Linked DNA regions of Homo sapiens: region 1 is linked to region 2. The links are contacts of gene promoters, found by promoter capture Hi-C in human tissues and cell types (Jung and others, 2019). All regions are on one chromosome and are shown on one strand. The core of a region is centred on a gene start or on the middle of the fragment in contact, and the rest is flanking DNA. Distances in the headings are between cores, read along the strand shown. Region 1 overlaps RORA (RAR related orphan receptor A). Region 2 holds the start of BNIP2 (BCL2 interacting protein 2).

The links. Contacts are between HindIII fragments. The study calls those that stand out against the background at their distance.
Region 1: a contact is called between a fragment that was not itself captured here and the fragment with the promoter of BNIP2 in region 2, in 1 of the 25 tissues and cell types used here (dorsolateral prefrontal cortex).

What each region holds. Positions count from the first base shown.
Region 1 is chr15:61,028,147-61,030,846 of GRCh38, forward strand. All of the region lies in intron 1 of RORA (RAR related orphan receptor A), which reads right to left. All of the region lies in intron 2 of LOC107984805 (a long non-coding RNA gene), which reads right to left. Among named protein-coding and RNA genes, the nearest start is that of RORA, 200 kb to the right of the region's middle. The HindIII fragment of the contact is 6,223 bases long and covers 1-2,700 here.
Region 2 is chr15:59,688,070-59,690,769 of GRCh38, forward strand. It overlaps BNIP2 (BCL2 interacting protein 2), which reads right to left and starts at 1,251. Exons shown (of 10, transcript NM_004330.4): 1 at 1,066-1,251. RefSeq lists an enhancer at 957-1,605 and a silencer at 1,019-1,528. The HindIII fragment of the contact is 13,463 bases long and covers 1-2,700 here.

The DNA.
Region 1 (2,700 bases), core at 61-2,560, 1.3 Mb after region 2:
TATTCACATCAGGACCTGCTCTGCTTTTGCCCATCATGGTTACTTCTACATTTTTGCAACTTAATTCCAATAAATATATAAAATAAATGCTGAATTCTATTAATAAATACACAAACGGGTAAAGGCATGCTGGGGGCATGAGGAGGAGTTGAGTGGTTTATGGAGGGCCCTTCCTATCTCCAGCACAATAGAGACTATGCCAAGGAAATTCATACAAACGGTCTAGATAAGTAGACTGCCAGAAACAATCTGGTTTTAATGAACTAAATTAGGATTCATTCATTCAACAAGTATCTAATGAGCTCCTACTATGTGCGGGGCCCTTTGTTAGGTGTTAGAATATCATGGTGAGTCAAAGCAGATACAGTACCTGCCCCCTCTAGTTTACAGTCTGTTAGAAAAGACCAGCATTAAATTAGGCCAAGAATCAAGCAAACAAAAGTAGAATTGCAACCATGACAAATGCTAGCAAGGTGACAGACACAGTGCAGTAACCCTATCTAGCAGGATCTGGCCTAGTCATGCAGGTCAGGAAAGTTCACTGAGGAAGTGATGCTGAATTCAATATTTAAAGGCTGGCCCAAATGTCTATCAACTGATGCGTGGGCAAATAAAATATAGTCTGTCCATACAATGAAATATATTCCATCATAAAAAGAAATGAAGTACTGATTCACGCTAAAATGCAGAGGAAACTCAAAAACATTATGTTAAGGGAAAGATGCCACAGTATTGTATGATTCTACTTACATAAATTGTCCAGAACAGGAGGGATGGTGGTGGTGAGGGTGGTGGTGGCTGAAGAGTGACTGCTAGTGGGTATGATGGGGAGTGAGTGCTAGAGGATACAGGTTTCTTTTTGGGGTGATGAATATATTCTGAAATAAGATAGTACTGATGGTCTGAAGTAAGATAGTGGTGATGGTTGCACACCTCTGTGAATATATTAAAAACACTGAATTATACACTCTAGATGGGTGAATTGTGAGGTCTGTGAATTAAAAAAAAAAACATCTAAACACCAACCCGAACCAGATGGTCTGTGAATTATATCCCAATAAATCTATGTGAAAATACTGCAAGCCTAGGGAAATGACAAGCTGAGGAGCAAAGCTCCTGTGTGTGGTTGGAGGACACATGACGAGCACCATTGGAAAGACAGAAAAAAAAGGCCAGGGAGGATCAGGCCTGAGATGAGACTGAGGAGGGAAGCAGGAGCAAATCCACACAGGGCCCTGCCAGCCATGTTGATGTTCTGTTTATCCTAAATGCAATGGGTGGCACTGGAGGGCTTTAAGCAGGAAAGAGGTGGAGGGAAGAGGAAAGGACACAATGGAATTTACATTGTGAAAAGATCATTCTGGCTAAAGTAAGGAGTACAGACGGGAGGGAGTTGGAAAGCTTATGTGTAGGCCAGTTGAGAGGCTGCAAAAGTCCAAGGCAAAGGTGGAGGTAGCATGGATGGGCCGAAGTGAAGAGATTAGAAAGATGTGTAAGATGTTAAATCAACAGGACAGGGTGACAGACTGGATCTGAGGGTAAAGAAGGGGAAAGAATTCTTGTTTTCATGTTTTATAACAAGATGGATAGTGGTGGCACCCATGGGAGACAGGACACTGTAAGAGGCCCAAGATGTCAGAGGGAGACAATGAGTCTGGTTTTAGACATGGAGATCAAAGCCTTTGGTATCCAAAAAGGGCCACGAGGAAGACAGTGGGTGCAATGATTCCAGAGCTCACTGGAGAGGCCTGGGCTTGAGATGGGGATCTGTGGCTCACCTAAAGAGAGACAAGTGGAGGCATAAGTACGCATGATCCTGCCCCAGTGAGATGACAGGAAGGCTTGAGACTGAGCTCTGAGGAGCCCTGACACTTCATAGCCTGAAACTGCATAATTGGAATCTCATCATAAGACAAACCCAAAGTGATGGTCATTCCATGAAGTAACTGACCTAGAGTCATCATCTGTGTCAAGGTTATGGAAGTCAAGGAAACGCTAAGGAAGTGTTCACATTAAAGGAAACTAAAGAGACCTGACAACTAGATGTAATAGGTGATTCTGAACTAGTACCTTTGGCTATAAAGGACCTGATTGAGACAATGGGTGAAACTTGAACGGGGTCAAAGGATTTGAAGGTTATAATGTATCAGTGCTAATTTGCTGATATTGATGGTTGTATTATGTATATGCAGGAGAATATCCTTGTATACAGGGATTACACACTAAAGTATTCCAGGTATTGGGGCATGAGGTTGGCAACTTATTCTCAGATGATTGAGAAGAAAATTAAGTTTATCTGTACTAGTCTTGTTACTTTTCTGTAAGCCAGTGGGCATGACCCATGTGAGAGGTAGAGTGGGTTTTAGAAGAGAAGGAATAATCCATGGTGCACAGGTCCTGAGAAGGAAGAGTTGAAGCACAGGAAGTTTGAGAAGAAATTTAAAACAGTTGTCATGTTGTGTGAGAAAATGAGTCAATCAGAGAATTAGAAGATTGCCAAGCATATTTGGGGCCCATAACAGGATGGTGATTATGAACAAAACAATGCCGTGACTTTTAAGCACATTCGAGAACTGAAAAAAATGTAGCATCTAAAACAGATTTTTAAGGTTGCGTGTATATCCAACTTACTAAGCAAGTTTATTTCTAATAAAAGATAAGCTATACTTTATAGTATCTCTTCCCCATTAATTTTGAGAA
Region 2 (2,700 bases), core at 1-2,500:
GTTTGCAGAAGTGGATCTGTCATACTTCCGGTCTAAGCCCAGCAGTATTAGGCTGCACTAGAGAATATGAAGACTAGGAATAGAGTTTAGAGAAAATGTAAACCAAAAAGAACTAAGAATATGTGCAAAATGATCAAGAAACTAGTCTGCAGGGGTAACTTAATTGGGTAAGGTCAGTTGTAACTTTGAGGAAACATCCATTTACAAATTACAGAATTTGTTTCTACAATTGCAGAGATTCCTATAAAATGTTAGAAAAACTACATTTAATTGAAAATACGAAATCAGGTATTAGGTGAAATAGAGATCCTAATCAAGAGAAGGTGAGAATGAAAAAAGCAACACTAAAATGCAATCACATAGTTTATTCAATTAAATAAATAGGAGGCACCGTAACTATCTTGATGCAACACCGGAAAAGCTGTTTCGTCAAAGAGCTCACAAGACACAGACAAGTAACTCTCCAGCGGCATGAAATGCATCCAGAAATCCAAACCATTTTGCCAGGTATTTAAACAGAAAGGGTTGTGTCTAGATTCACGCGGGGACTCGGCTTTTGACGTACACACTCTGTATTTGGTTTAGCGTACTAGGGAAGATCTATTAAAGCCCTGATTACTTATGCTGCTTCCGTGTCTATTCCCCGCGGTTACGAGGCATACCAGAAGTCCAAGTTTCTTTGTTCTGTACCAGGACGGACGCTGGTCATAAATACTGAACCATCGTAGCCCAGCCACTTCACCCACACCAGGGTAAAAGGGTGGGGGAGCGGAGGAGGGGCAAGGTTCCATCCCGAGCACAACTACCAGAAACGGAAAAGCGACGGGGTGGGGGGCCAAACTGCCAAATACAAACAGGACCCAAGCCAAGGGCGGGGACCTAAGCAGGGCGGGGATCCAGGAAGCACCTCCCGAGCAGGTTCTATGGCTCCCCCTACCAAGGGTAACTCTCTGGGTTTCCTCTCCCCGGACGTCGTGGGCACGCGCCCGACAGACTTTCGCCCCTAGGCCGGTTCCCAGTCCAGCTCCGGAGCCACCGTGCCGAGTTCTCCCAGGCCGCACTCACCCCGGAGGAAGCCTTGGCCCCCTCGTCCTCTTCGCCCCTCCAGGCCGGCGACGTGGGGCTGACGGCCAGGTCGCAAAAAGCAGGGCCGAGCGGAGCCCGCTCCCCTCGGTCGGCGGTGGAGACCCCGGCCCAATCCCCCGGCCGCAGCGGTACGGCGTCGGCGGCAGCAGCTGACCCGGACACAGTGAGAAGCCCCGGCGGAAGTGATAACATCCCGACCTCCTCCGGGCGCGGCAGCCGGCGGTGGAGGCGGCGGGGGCGTGGCGGCGGCGGAGGCGTGGCGTCTTCTTGAAACCCACACAGCATCCCCCCAACCCCCTCAGACGTCACGGGCTAGCGCTCGCGCCTGCACTCGCGGGGTCGGCCTTCCTTGCCTGTGGGCGGACCCGTCGCGTCGACTCCTTATTGGTGGCGTTACTACGCCTCAAGGCGTTTCTTCCCTCTTTGCTGTTCGCAGGGACGCTGCCTGGTAGTTTCAGTTACTTTTGTTTTCTTTCTGCCTGCCTTTATTGATCATTACAGTAGGTGAAATTATCGATATCAATAATAATATTGTAATACAATAGGTGCAATTATCAATATCAATATTATTACAACAGGTGCAATTATCAGTATCATTACAATAGGTGCAATTATCAGCGATCAATAATGTGAATTATAAAATGGATGAAATAAGGGGAGGAGGTCGGGCGCGGTGGTTTACGCTTGTAATCCCAGCACTTTGGGAGGGCGAGGCGGGTGGATTACCGGAGGTCAAGAGCTCGAGACCAGCCTGGCCAACATGGTGACACCTCGTCTCTACTAAACAAACAAAAATTAGCTGGGCGTGGTGGCGCGCGTCTGTAATCCCAACTACTCAGGAGGCGAGGGCGGAGGCGGAGGCGGAGTTGGAGTTTGCAGTGAGCCGAGATCGTGCCATTGCACTCCAGCTTGGGCAACAGAGCAAAAACTCCGTCTCAAATAAAAGGAAAAAGGAAAAAAAAAAAAAAAGAAAAAGAAAAAAAAGAAATAAGGCGAGGAAAAATATCCGAGGCATCATTTTGGGGAGTTAGGCCTCAGAAGCGACCTTAGAGTTTGGTAATATTTGAGTGTGAAAAGCTTTACAGCAGTGCTTCTCTTCACTGGGGGAACGGTCGGTTTATTTTTTTCAATTTTCAATTAGTTTTTGACAAGTTAATAAAACAGAAAAATGAAAAGACATACAAAGTCCAAGTCAAAACTTTTTATCGTTAGAGTTAACAGCCATAAAATTACCTGCAAAATTGACATAGAGTTTTCTACTCTCTCTCTGTGAACCATTTGCAAACAGTTCTCAGAAGAGCCCAGGTCTATAGACCATGGTTAGAGTACTCAAGGTAAACTACTCAAATTAGACCATACTCAGCTGTAGAGTTTCAACCAAATGAGATTTGTTTGGAGAACATCATAGTCTCTCTCAGTTGGGCGTGCTGGCTCATGACTGTAATCCCAGCACTTTGAGAGGCCGAGTCGGTAGATCGCCAGACCTCAGGGCAACATGGCGAGACCCCATCTCTTAAAAAAAAAAAAAAAAAAAGAGACAGAGAAAGAAAGAAAGAAAAAGAAGCAAAGAGAAAGAAAGGAAGAAAGAAAGAAAAGAAGAAAATTAGGTGGGCT